4 separate regions of the Homo sapiens genome follow, and regions 2, 3 and 4 are each linked to region 1. The links are contacts of gene promoters, found by promoter capture Hi-C in blood cells and fetal thymus (Javierre and others, 2016). All regions are on one chromosome and are shown on one strand. Each heading gives the region's core, a stretch centred on a gene start or on the middle of the fragment in contact. The rest is flanking DNA. Distances are from core to core; before and after follow the strand shown. Region 1 holds the start of VDAC1 (voltage dependent anion channel 1). Region 2 holds the start of FSTL4-AS1 (FSTL4 antisense RNA 1). Region 3 holds the start of CAMLG (calcium modulating ligand). Region 4 holds the start of JADE2 (jade family PHD finger 2).

Evidence for each region. Contacts are between HindIII fragments. The CHiCAGO score rates a contact against its expected background, and 5 or more counts as called.
Region 2: a contact is called between the fragment with the promoter of FSTL4-AS1 here and the fragment with the promoter of VDAC1 in region 1, in 8 of 17 cell types (endothelial precursors, total B cells, M0 macrophages and 5 more). The highest score is 11.8, in endothelial precursors.
Region 3: a contact is called between the fragment with the promoter of CAMLG here and the fragment with the promoter of VDAC1 in region 1, in 2 of 17 cell types (activated CD4 T cells and non-activated CD4 T cells). The highest score is 7.7, in activated CD4 T cells.
Region 4: the fragment with the promoter of JADE2 here is called in contact with the fragment with the promoter of VDAC1 in region 1 in 5 of 17 cell types (total CD8 T cells, fetal thymus, non-activated CD4 T cells and 2 more); the score reaches 6.5 in total CD8 T cells.

What each region holds. Positions count from the first base shown.
Region 1 is chr5:134,003,466-134,006,505 of GRCh38, forward strand. VDAC1 (voltage dependent anion channel 1) reads right to left here and starts at 1,510. Exons shown (of 9, transcript NM_003374.3): 1 at 1,430-1,510. RefSeq lists enhancers at 234-283, 294-343, 1,994-2,113, 2,184-2,243, 2,284-2,353 and silencers at 574-1,613, 1,674-1,733, 1,774-1,823. The HindIII fragment of the contact is 5,979 bases long and covers 1-3,040 here.
Region 2 is chr5:133,254,824-133,257,863 of GRCh38, forward strand. FSTL4-AS1 (FSTL4 antisense RNA 1) reads left to right here and starts at 1,622. Exons shown (of 2, transcript XR_007058939.1): 1 at 1,622-1,695. All of the region lies in intron 6 of FSTL4 (follistatin like 4), which reads right to left. The HindIII fragment of the contact is 11,288 bases long and covers 1-3,040 here.
Region 3 is chr5:134,737,019-134,740,058 of GRCh38, forward strand. It overlaps CAMLG (calcium modulating ligand), which reads left to right and starts at 1,530. Exons shown (of 4, transcript NM_001745.4): 1 at 1,530-1,774. The coding sequence starts at 1,603. RefSeq lists an enhancer at 1,118-1,167. The HindIII fragment of the contact is 13,475 bases long and covers 1-3,040 here.
Region 4 is chr5:134,524,070-134,527,109 of GRCh38, forward strand. It overlaps JADE2 (jade family PHD finger 2), which reads left to right and starts at 1,601. Exons shown (of 12, transcript NM_001388185.1): 1 at 1,601-1,942. It overlaps LOC124901070 (a long non-coding RNA gene), which reads right to left and starts at 1,533. Exons shown (of 3, transcript XR_007058942.1): 1 at 1,397-1,533; 2 at 837-1,014. RefSeq lists silencers at 371-690, 1,271-1,320, 1,341-1,560, 1,691-1,770, 1,801-2,060 and 1 more. The HindIII fragment of the contact is 6,085 bases long and covers 1-3,040 here.

The sequences.
Region 1 (3,040 bases), core at 260-2,759:
TCCAGCTTGACAATGTCCATTTGTAAACTTACAAGATTTTTCATAAATTAAGCTGAAAGTTACTCAATACCTGGTATACAAATGCTTGTCAATAATAGTGAAAGAATGTTTAAAAACAGGAGCTACATTTATTGAACCCCTTCCACAACGCCACGTGTAGCAAAATGGTCTGCGGGGGATGGGCTGGATTCACCCAAAAAGCCCCAAGGGTGTCAGGGTTTCTACTTAGCCCTTCTCCACACCGGCACTGTTCTAAAGGTTTCATGCTAATTAATTCATTTTATTATTCCCCAAAACTCATCGAAGGAGAGGTACAATTGCTCCCGTCCTATAGATGAGAAAACGAAGGTATGGGGACTTCCCAGCTGTGTGACCTTGTACAAACCACTAAGACTGCGGGCCTCTAATCCAAAGTCAGGCTCCGAAACAGTTTCCAGAATGCACCGCCGCATTTGGCGAATGAATGAACGACCGAACCAGTAATCACTCCTAAGACCAAGAAGGCCACATCCTTCCCCGTGGGGCCTCCTTTTCCGAGGCCAAACCTTCAGCCCAGGCCCGAGCTCCGGCCTCTACCGCCTAAGTCGACTCTCGGCCGGCGCGTTCCGCTCTAGAAGGCTCTGGCACAGGCGGGCGGTGCCGGGCGCCAGCTTCTGCGGGCGTGGGCCGGCCAGGGCGCGTGGGCCTGGGGACTCGGGGCCACGGTCGTCACGTGAGCTCATCCCCGAGGCGGCAGCGTGGCCGGCACCCGCCCGCTGGCCTGGTCCGGCGAGCGTGGGCGGCGAACGGGTCCCCGCCGGATGCACGCTGGTGGGATCCAGGGCCAGAGGGCGCCGCCGGGGAAGGTCACCTAGACGCGCGGCCCGCCGGGCCTCCACGCGGCCGCCCTTGCACTTCCGCCCGCAAGCCCGGGCCGCCTCTCGCCGCCAGCCGCAGGCGTCTCTGGACCCTCGGCCTCGCGCTCCCCAGCCCAGACCTGTTCGGCACCCGCCTGTGCGGCCTTCTCTGCCCGCCCGCTCACCAGCCAGGCCCGCGCCGGCCGCTCGCGATCCCTCCCCGCGGCCGGGCTGCCGGGGCCCCTCGCCCGCTCCTCCCTCAGCGCCTCCCTCTCAGCTCCCCAGGGGCCTGGCCCCCGCCGTCCAGGGCGCAAGGAAGCCGGGGTCCTTTTCCGCTGCGCCTACCTCAGAGGATGTGGCGGCGGGCTCGGAGGCGGCTACGGCGGGGGCTGCGACGCGGAGGCAGGGAGCCGAGCCAGGGAGCGGAGCCGAGCGAGCGGCTGGGCCAAGGGCGGGGCGGCGCGGACGGCGGCGGCGCGGACCCGCCTCCCCTCCTGCGCGCCCGGCCCGGCGCGCTCCGCCCCCAGGCCCCGCCCGGGACAGCGTCCAGGCCGGGCCAGGGTCCCCATCCCGCTAGCGAGCCGCGTTCTTACCCTTCCGGGCCCCGCTGCCCCGGCAGCAGACACAGGAGCCTGCGGGCGTGTTGCGGGCGCGCGGGAGGACCTGCGTGAGTCGGGGCACGGGGAGGCGCCGGACTGACGTGTGCACCGTGTGTGCGTGCGCAGGGACACGCGGGTTCTTGCTGGAAACCTCGGCCCCAGTGGCAGCGCTCGGGAAGGGGGAGGAGGCCTTCCGATTCTCTGAGCTGTGGCCCGGAGGTCCCTGCGCTAATGGAAGACGCGCGGGGCTCCTGGGCCTCCTGCTTGGCCTCCGCGCTGCTAGATCCCCCGGGAGTTGATGTGGCCGGCGCTGGACCCAAGCCTCGCCTGGGTGGACAAAGTGGCCCCCGGCCCCCCATCAAAGCCCGCGTGGGCCCCATCCCCCGAGGGCAGTCCCAGGCCCAGCGCGGACACTGGGCGCCTGGGGCGGCGCAGATACAGAGTAGAGGCGGCGACTGTTGCTCCCGAGCTCCGCGCTCCGGATACAATGTGTCTGGCGCCTCCGACCCGCCCGCGCGGCGTCTAGACAATCTCAGAGAAAACCCCTGTGCGCCGATTTTGCACTACAGATTAGCGATTTTCTCCTGTAGCAAAGCTACTAGCAGCCAATTTCCATGCATTTGAGAGGCAAAAAGACAAAATAAAACAAAACGTGGATTGGGTTTTGCGAGGTCCCTGCTGGGTCTCTCGGCGCGAGGAGATCACGCCGGTTATGGCCGGCCGGCCGACTGAGGGCACCCCGGGTAACCCCCGCGACCAGCCGGGGCGTGTCCTGCGGGACCCAGTTAGTGTGTGTTGAGTGAACGGTCACCTCGCTGCTAGGCCTAAGCGAGTGGTCTCGTTCACCACTGAGTGTCCCCTGTGTTACGCGCGAGGCCCACTCGAAGCAGGTTTCGAGAATTAATTCGTAGATGGACGAAGATTCTACACATCCTTCGCCTTTGATCAACAAACGTCCTGGAAGGCTTGAGGCGTCTAGGGCCCTGTGGAGGAGGTGCCGGGTTACAGAATCAGGACACTCCTCACAGCCAGCTGCGACACTATCTAAAGCAGTGGGCAACTGGGGCTACGGAGGAGGCAATCAGGACTGGCTGCTGGGAAAAGGCGGCAGATTAAAAGTGGCGACTGGAGTTGGAAAAGGTGCTCCAGTGGGATAGGGTGCTGAGGAAGAGGGCAGCTGATACAGAGTGGGAGTGGGGTGCAGACAGGTTACCTAGGCCCTGTGTAGGGGCTGGGGGAGGGGTGACTGGGAATGTAAGGAAGAGCCCCCTTCAAGATCCTGAGGAGTGTAGGACGGATTCTATGACCCTCCCAGGCGCACGAGTTGCCTGGGAACTCTGGGCTTCCCAGCCTGGTGGTCCCCACCCCGCACACTGAGACTGGTGGGCAGGGGGAGGACAAGAACTCAGGGAGGCCGGGCGGGACAAGGCGGGGCTCCAGGAACCCCACAGGGCTAGGAACAGATGCCGGTGCAACCCAGTTTTGAGGCTGGGAGCAAATGTCGAAGGGCTTCCTCCCCTCCAGCGCCACCTCTCAACTCCGCTTTAAAGAACCAATCTGGGCCGGGTGCAGTGGCTCAAGCCTGTAATCCTAGTACTTTGGGAG
Region 2 (3,040 bases), core at 372-2,871, 750 kb before region 1:
GCGAGGGTCTGGAATTTGTGGAGATGGCCTTCTGTGTTCAGTGATCACACATCTCCTGAACCTCACCTGCGCTGGCCACATCTGCAGGGCTGTGGACCAGTTAAGCCCCAGGCCTGGTCTCTGCTCTGGTGGGGAGCCAGGCCACATGAGAGGAAGATGAAGATGCCACATGCAGCCCTCTAGGGGGCAACGAGTGGTCCTTCTGGCTCCTGGCTGTGGCTCCAATGCCCCTGTGTTGACTGACCATCTGTGGGCTCATTAGCCACTATGTGGGAAGGTTTCCAAGGTCCCTGGACGACCAAACGTGATATGCCCAGCACTCAGAGTGTGATCAGGGGTCAGTGAGAGAGGGCTCAGCCAGACGCTGTGTCTGGGGTGAGAATGTGTCTACACACTGAGGCTGGTGTCTTTGGAAAGAGAGGGCTGGGTTGGGGGTCAGAGCAGCCCATCAGGGAGCTTGTCTGGCACTACTGGGCAGAAGTCTGTGCCCACAGAGGGACTGACGCCCTGCTATGAGAACTGACATTGGAGAGCTGCTCTGCAAGTAGGGAATCTGAGGAGGGCAAGGGAGTTGGGGGGTTCTCAAAGCTCAGGGCTTCCCATGATATCCCCCTGGGATGAAAACAAATGGGTCACACTGCAGTGATGGCCCAAGTCAGTGTGGGTTGGTTGGCACAAGACAGAGCTTCCTGGACCACTAGCTAGGCTGCGTGTCCCACAGTGGGATTCTGGGCAGGGCTGTCTGGCACTCTGGTGCCTAGCACAAGGCATGGCACACAGTAGGTGGGCTCAAGGCCATGACCTATCTCTCTAGGCCCTTCAAACCAGTGCAGTAGCATACCCTTGGTTTTCCAGACATGAGATGCCACAAACACCCGTCCTCACCTTTCTCCCTGAGTCTTGGAGCTTGGAGAGAAGAGGCAGTCACAGGGAATTAATGGGCTTACCATAAGCAGGCTAACAAACACCCTTCCTGAAAGCAGGAGGCCATAACATTTCAGTTGTTGGAGAACTGGGTTTTAGTTCCTATTACAGGTTTCCCTTAATCTCAGGCGCTATTTCTCACACTGACTTGAACTCGATAAGACACTCATAAACCCATCAGCACCCTCTCAAACAGGATTCTGGTGCTTTGTAGTGATAGAAATTAAATTTCTCAAATTCTTGTCAAGCTGGTGTTAGTTTTCTTATGTCAGAAACACACTAATGGAACACATTCCTACTTGGATATTTGCCATTTTTCAAATGATGCCATTGGTGAAAAAAACCCTGTCAAAAGCTCAGTAACCTGCCTGCACATCAATATTTTTGACTGAGCCTCGGAGGGCAAACTCAGGCTCAGGGGCCTGCTTGGGAATGAGGGCAATTTGGAGAGAGCACAGGCCAGGCGCTTAGACACATCTCTCTAACTGCGGCCTCTTCCCACATTATTCTCCTTCTAAATTAATGTGCTTTCCTGAAACAAACCCCTCAGGTGACCTAGGTGCCACCAAAGAAGCTGGGGCATTGGAGTGACAAAGTCTATTGATCTGGTCCCATCCCTGTGACCAGAGTCACACTGTGAAGTTGGCGAGTAGGGGAGGAGCCAAGGGGGAGTGCGCATGCCCAGTGTCTCCTGAACAAACAGGGCAACATCTCCCGGACCTTGTGACTTTGGCTGGTGTTTACAGAGTGAAGCTGCTTTGGCGTATCCTGGTGAGCCGGGCAAGGCGGGTGGGAGGGATGGTGTGCTTTTTGTCTCCTCTGTTCCGTCTACCAGAGATTGTCACTCTGGGATCCTTTCAAATAACTGCTGAATGTTTGTGGATGGGAGGCTGGGGACAGGATGTCTTAAAGCCTTTCATCTTGACATTCCTGTTTAGAGCACCAGGGTGCATCCAGCCTGCACAGGTGGCTCTGTATTAGCCAGACTTGCTCCAAAGCCACACAAGAGAGCACTTGCATCTGTCCCAAATCTCCTGTTTCCTTACGTGTAACCAGATTCAATCTTCCTGCCATTGTCATTCCCTCTTGCTTGCTTCATTTTGGGGATGGCAATAAAATTACTAGTTAATTACCTGCGGGTCAGTGGGTAATTTACTTTTTCAACTGGCCTATGTTGCTTGATGTTGCTTCAACTTTTATTACAGTTTAGTTATCAAGTTCTGCTCTCTGGTGTGAACAAACACCTTTGTAAGCTGCATAAAGGCAGAGACTATATCTGTTTTATTTATGTTGTATCCCCAGCACCTAATACAATGCCTACCACGCAGAAGGGACTTAATAAGCAGTTTTAAGCAAGTGAACTATTAGGCTAGTGCTCAGTCAACAATTATTTATGGAGCTGGTACCAGGAGCCAGGATACAGTGGGAATATACTGGCAAGAAAAACAGGCCCAGTGCTTGCTAACCTGGAGCTCATGGCTTAGCAGAGAAGACAAGTGTTAAGTGGGGAGGGAGAGCAGAGGCCTGAACCTGTCTACAGACCCCAGGTTAAGGGCCCGTGACTCCTGTAAAGCCTGGTTGCCCTCTTTCTTGGTAGAGCCCTCCCTGTGTGCCTGGCAGACCTGTGTCCTGCTATCGAGACATCCTAGTCTGATGTAGTATCCTCCTTGTTTGCAGGAGGGGCCGGCCTGTGCAGGGGCAGGGTTACCTGGGCATCCCTCTAGGCTCTGGGGTTCCATTTAGCCTCCTCTGGCCAATACACCTTTTTAGTTTTGAGAAAACTAAACCTCAATGTGACTGCTGTGTGCAGACGAACAGGAAGTTAGAGCAGAACTCAGTGCCCAGGGGCTGTGAGATCACCATTCTGGGTATCATGGGGTGCCACAGTGTGGCAGGCAGGAGAGGCATCCATCAGAAGGAGCAAAGGGTCCTTGCTGAGGTGGAGAGCACAGGGCCTCCTGGTCAGCAGGAGCATGGCTGTCACAGTGCTGCATACCAGCTCTTCCACCTCCGCTGGTTCCTGTGTGTGGGGTAGCCTTGGTCAGCTTGGCCACTCTATGGGTCTCTCCCACCCTACTGAGTCTACACCCAAAGATGATGGGCATACCTCTGCTCA
Region 3 (3,040 bases), core at 280-2,779, 730 kb after region 1:
AGCCTCCCAAGTAGCTGGGACCACAGGCACACGCCACCAAGCCCGACTAATTTTTGTATTTTTAGTACAGTCAGGGTTTTGCCACGTTGGCCAGACTGGTCTCGAATTCCTGGCCTCAAGTGATCCACCCATCTCAGCCCTCACAAAGTGCTGGAATTACAGGCATGAGCCACCGCGCCCAGTCATTTGTTCTGATTTTATTTTATTTATTTCTTTTATATATGTATTTTTGAGACGGAGTCTCCCTCTGTCGCCCAGGCTGGAGTGCAGTGGCATGATCTCGGCTCACTGCAATTTCTGCCTCCCAGGTTCAAGCGATTCTCCTGCCTCAGCCTCCCAAGTAGCTGGGATTACAGGTGCATGCCACCAGGTCAGGCTAATTTTTGTATTTTTAGTAGAGACGGGGTTTTGCCATATTGGCCAGGCTGGTCTCGAACTCCTGACCTCAGGTGATCCGCCTGCCTCGGCCTCCCAAAGTTAGGATTACAGACGTGAGCCACCGCTCCCGGCCTTTTTGTTTTTTTCTTTTCTTTTCCTTTTTTTTTTTTGAGACGGAGTCTCGTTCTGTCGCCCAGGCTGGAGCATCTTTAGCATGCGAGGTGGTCATGAACGACAAGGAGAAAAAACAAGGTGAAGGGGAATGGGGAGTGTTGGCAATTTAGATAGAATGTGCACGAAAGGTTTCAATGGGAAATTCTAATTTGAATAAAAACGCACAAAACGCGAGGAAAGCCTAGGAACACATCAGCCGTATACTTTGCCGTAGAGAAGTTAAGGATGAGGAACAGGCACCAAGAACAAATCCCAGCGTAAGGCTCCCTTTAAGTGCGGCTCCCAGGGTTACGTATTCCCATTGCCTACAGGCGAGGCCGCGGGTCTGTAAACAAGCGACTGCCGCTGCAACCTCCATTTTGCTTCCTGGCACCAAATCTAGGCTGACCTACTTACTGCCATCCCTTTCCCACTCCCGGTTTTCTTTTCTTTCTTTTTTTTTTTCTCGAGACAGAGTCTCGCTCTGTAGCCCAGGCTGGAGAACAGTGGCGCGATCTCGGCTCACTGCAACCTCCGCCTCCTGGGTCCAAGAGATTCTCCTGCCTCAGCCTCCCGAGTAGCTGGGATTACAGGCGCGCGCCACCCCGCCCGGCTAAGTTTTTGTATTTTTAGTAGAGACGGGTGGGGGGAGGGGGGAGGGGGTCACCATGTTGGCCAGGCTACTCTCGAAATCGTGACCTCGTGATCCGCCCGCCTCGGCCTTCCAAAGTGCTAGGATTACAGGCGTGAGCCACCACTCCCGGCCCTGGGTGCTGGTTTTCTTCACCTCCGAGTGAACAGCAGAGGGGGCTGTTGGGTGAGGGCCAGAAGAGTTGGGGAGGCACGAGGGCGTCCAGCGCTGCCCTCACTCAAGATGGCGGCCAGAGCCTCGCGCTTGGTCGCGTGGGGCGGTGCGTGAGTGCTTAGCTCACAGGCTCCGGGACCGCGCTCGGGGGCGGGTCTATAGTGGGAAGGGGACGCGCGCCCTGCGGCCCGGCCTCTAGTCATCGCCCTCGCAGCGGCGGCCAACATCACCGCCACTGCCACCCCTCCCAGACTGTGGACGGGAGGATGGAGTCGATGGCCGTCGCTACCGACGGCGGGGAGAGGCCGGGGGTCCCAGCGGGCTCAGGTCTGTCGGCTTCCCAGCGTCGGGCGGAGCTGCGTCGGAGAAAGCTGCTCATGAACTCGGAACAGCGCATCAACCGGATCATGGGCTTTCACAGGCCCGGGAGCGGCGCGGGTAAGAGCCTCGATTTCCCCTCAGTCTCCCGCCCATCACCTTGAATCTTCAGGGTCATTCTTCCCTCTCCCACCTCCACTCCTCTGACCTTTTTGACCAAGCCTTGCTCTTTGATTTCCTCTCTGTCCCGCCCCTTCGGTGATATCCCAAGTTCTCATCCCTGAACCCCAGGATGTTCCTAGTCGCTCCCCTCAATTTTCCCGGGGCCTCGCCGTGAGATTTTCCCCACCCTGCCTGCAGAGCTCTCACTCCCTCTTCCCAGTTACGTTGAACAGCCCCTTTTTTCCTTAGCCACTCCTCGCCTTTCTTGAAGGGCGCACGTTGTATCCCCAGACTGTCATGTCTACTGCTCCCCTTAGGAAGATGGCTTTCCTTCTTAAGGTTCCAAGTGCTTTTCCTTACAGTGCCTTCTCTAGCGTCTACCTTCTTTTGCCTTTTGCTGTGTAACTCCTGTCCGCCCACATCAGCCTGTCTTTACTGAACTGCCCGCTAGTTCATCCTACGTGTATCAGGGACTCTTGTGCTCATATCCTAGTGTTTGTGTTCAGTGCCGTCAACACTGTCACCTACGGGCCGGCTAGAAAAGGTGGGAAAAGTGAGAGTGAGCATTCTTCAGAGACCCAGCAAGTGCGAAGTGCACACCTGAGAGTTTCCTCTCCTCATGAGGGGATATTGTTGTGATTGATGTCTGGAGCTGCATTTCTAAGGAGAGCGCCTCCTTCCTCCCCCAAACACATGTCCAATGATTTTCTTTAAAAAAAATTTATTTCACGTGAGTATAATTGAGCAATTAGCGCGCCCTAGTGTTATCTAAGTTTCCAGTGTTTCCTTTAGTAATTGGCCTTTAGTCACTGGTCGCAAGCTCCTTATATCTTTGTGACTTTTGTTCTGTAAGGCTTTAGGTGTATAGCTCTGAACTTTTAGGCAGTTCAAATGAGAGGTAAGAAAACCATTTCAAATTCTTCTAGAACAATAGAAGAAACATTTTTCTATCGGGCTATTTATTCTTAAAGCATTATTTATGATCTTACCTGAGGTACTTTCTATATTTTGTTCTTTTGCTTTGAAAATTTTATGTCTTTAAAGGTTGTTTTATTTTTTGAGACAGGGTCTCCCTCTGTAGGCCAGGCTGGAGTGCAGTGGCATGATCATAGCTTACTGCAGCCTCAAACTCCTGGGCTTAAGCAATCCTGCTACCTCAGCCTCCGGAGTAGCTAGGACCACAGGTGTACACCACCATGCCTGGCTAATTTAAAAAAAAATTGT
Region 4 (3,040 bases), core at 351-2,850, 520 kb after region 1:
GGGCAGCCGACCATGAGGGGGAAGAAAAAGTTGGCCACGATGCTTTGGGGATGTTGGGCCAGGCTCCCCACAACCTCCTCCCGAGGCCAGACCCACCCCCTCCCCAGCTAGAGGCATTCCGAGGAGGTTGGAGCTTGACCCCCGATTCCTCCCCAACCAGGAGGCCAGTCCTTCTCCTTCCTCGAGAGAAGGTGAGCTCGGCGGGCGCAGCGGGTTGGGTGGGTGTGGCCCGCGGCTCCGGGAACAGACCCAAGGCCCCGCCACCGCCGGCTAGCAGCCCGACAGCCCGCCCGCCTGGCGAGCGCAGGCTCTTCTTCCAGAAACTGCGAGGATCCGAGCGTACTGTTTGTGCACCACAAGGTCAAGTCGGGAAGTGGAGCCGGAGGAGGAGGGGCGAGGAGGCGAAGGGTGGGGAGAGGGGCGCCCCGCTTCCTCGCCATGTGCCAGCCTTTGGAAGTTACCCCTCGGTTTTTAACCCTTTCGGGGTAATGGGAAGGAAGAGCAAGGAGGAAGGGGTCGCCCCGGGGCAAAATCCTGCTGGGGCCAGGATGTGCAACCACCCACCCACCCGCTCATCACTGCCTTCTCCACCCCCCGGAAATGCGGGGCAGCGCTAGGCGCCAGGAGGCACCCGGGAGGGGGGAGGGGGCGACGAGCCCAATGGGGACCCTCTCTACGGACCGCCCCTCTTTTCTTGAGGTCGCCTACAATTTCAAGTTCCCCCGCCCGGAATGTTAGTTTTCCATTTGGAGTGGGTGCGGGGAGGAGGGCCGCGCCCCCTCCCCAAGACTCGCGTTCGCCCCTCCACTCCCCTCCTGCCAGCACTTTCTGCTCACTTCTGGTGCTGCAAAACGCCACGCAATTTATTCGATTCGCATTTTAAAACCAGCGATTCAGAAGCAGGGCCTAGGGCGAGGGTCTTCCAGCGCTGGAGCCCCGGGGGGCGGGGTGCTCAGTGCAAACCTCGTTCCCTCCGCGAGTGTCGCCTCCAGGCTGTTATTTGCAAAGAAACGTCTTTTTGACGCAGGGAGAAATGGCAAATTTTAAGTACGTCATTAATATGGCGCCAAAAGATTTTTTTAAGTATAAGCTCGCTTTTTTTTTTTTTTAAGGTTGCGGGGGGCGCCGCCCGGGTCTGGGGCGCGTAGGGGGCGGGGTGTGAGCAGAAAGTGTGAGTGAAAGAGTGGAGGGGCGGGGTATGTGTGTGAGTGTGTGAAGTGTGAGCAGACCTGATGGGACTTGCACGGGCGCAGCCGCCGCTCGGGCCCGGCCCTGGGGACAGGGCGGGCTAGGGGCGCCCCAGAGTCCATGGGGAGTCCGGGCCCAGGGTGCCAGCAGGCGTGGTGGTGGGGCTGCGAGGGAGGGCACCCTTCCCCCACGGGGCCCGCAACGCTACCTGGACTCCCCGCCGGAGCCAAACAACTGGGCGGGGGGTTGGGGGGGCGGCGACGGGGGTGTCGGGAGCGGAGATCCGAGTGAATAAGAAAAAAGTGGCTACTCCCCCTCCCTCGCTCCTCCTGCCCGCCCCCACCCCACCCCCACCCCAACACATTTTTTTTTTCTAAAGAGATCACAAGGAAGTCTTGGTTTAAAAAGAAACAGAAACATACACAGGGGGTTGGTGAATGGTGCCGACCGCGGCCATCGCAGTTGGAGGCTATTTTTTGGGGGGGGTGAGTAGCGTCCATGGAGTTACTTTGCGCCCACTCCTAGCGGCACCGGCTTAGGTCCTGCGGGCCGACCGTCCCCGGCGGGGGGCGTGGGGCCTGGGACGCCGCGGGCCCGGCCGCCTCCCTCGCCGCGACCCCGGATGGATGCGCGCCCCCCGCCCTCCCGCGCCGGCCCCAGGAGCTCCCGGCTTCGGGAGCATCCTTCCCGCGCCGGTCCCTGCAGCGGCGCGTAGCCGAGGGCAGCGCCCGTCAGGGGGGCACCGCGGAGCAAGGTAAGATCCAGCCCCCGGCGGATGGGCCCTGCGCATCTCCACGACGTTATTTGGCGTTTTTGCAACAGATCTGCCAGCGCTCTTCGCTCCCTCGCTCTCTCTTGCTCGCTCGCTCCCTCTCTCTCCTGCTGGCTGCCTGTTCTAGGAAGCCAGCGCGGAGAGGGGGGGGATGCACAGCACAGGGGAGAGAGATTGCGCATGTTGGTCAGTCGTGTTTTAAAGAGTACAGTGCGGGGAGGCTGAGAGGGGCGCATGCAACAACAACTTTTGGAAGGGTGAGCTTGGCGACCTTCTTTATTAATGACTGCGGCAAAGCGCCCCCGGGCCGGCGAGGGGGCGCGGGCGGGCGGGGGCGCGCCAGGGCTGCAACTTCCCCGCGGGCTCCGGCCGGGCGTAGGGGCTGCGGCGGGAGATGGGTACGGTGGGGAGGTCGAGCGGCCCGGGCGGGGGCTCCGAGAACCTGGAGCTATCTGCCCTCCTGTCTCCCCGAGTTTCATTTTGTTGATACGCAGCACGTCCGGGCGCCGAACCGGGCTGAGCCGGTGCACATGACCTCGCGCTGGGCTCACGTGCAGCCGGTCCGGTCCCAGACACCTTCCGGGGGCCACCGCCTCCGCCCTGTCGCCCCCTCTCCCGGCCCGGTGCACGCGGGCGCTGCACGCGGGGGCAGCATGCTCGGCTCCTGGGGTTGGAGGCTCTGCACAAATTAGACAGTTTTTTTGGAGGGGCGGGGGACACCCTTTCCAGGTGAGTGTGGAGGGTGCGGAGCCTCGGCGCCAGGGGTGAGGACTGGGGTCGGGGGCAGCCTCCACCTCCGGGGCCGCGCGGTAGTCCAGCTGGGGAGAGGCGCTGGGAGAGTGGAAATGTACCGGCGGCGGCCGGAGCGGCGGGTGCGCGCCCGCGGGGCGACGGCAGGGGGCGTGGCCCTTGTTTACCTTCTCCCAACTCTGCCGGTTCGCGTCCCGCTTCAGGGACGGATCCGCAGTCCCCAGCCCTCTGCCTAGGGCCCTGCACCATGGGTGGTACCAGGAAGATGCCGGCTTGTGGCGGACCCCGTTTGGGACGCACACACCTGACTCTCAAATGAGTGACATTGCA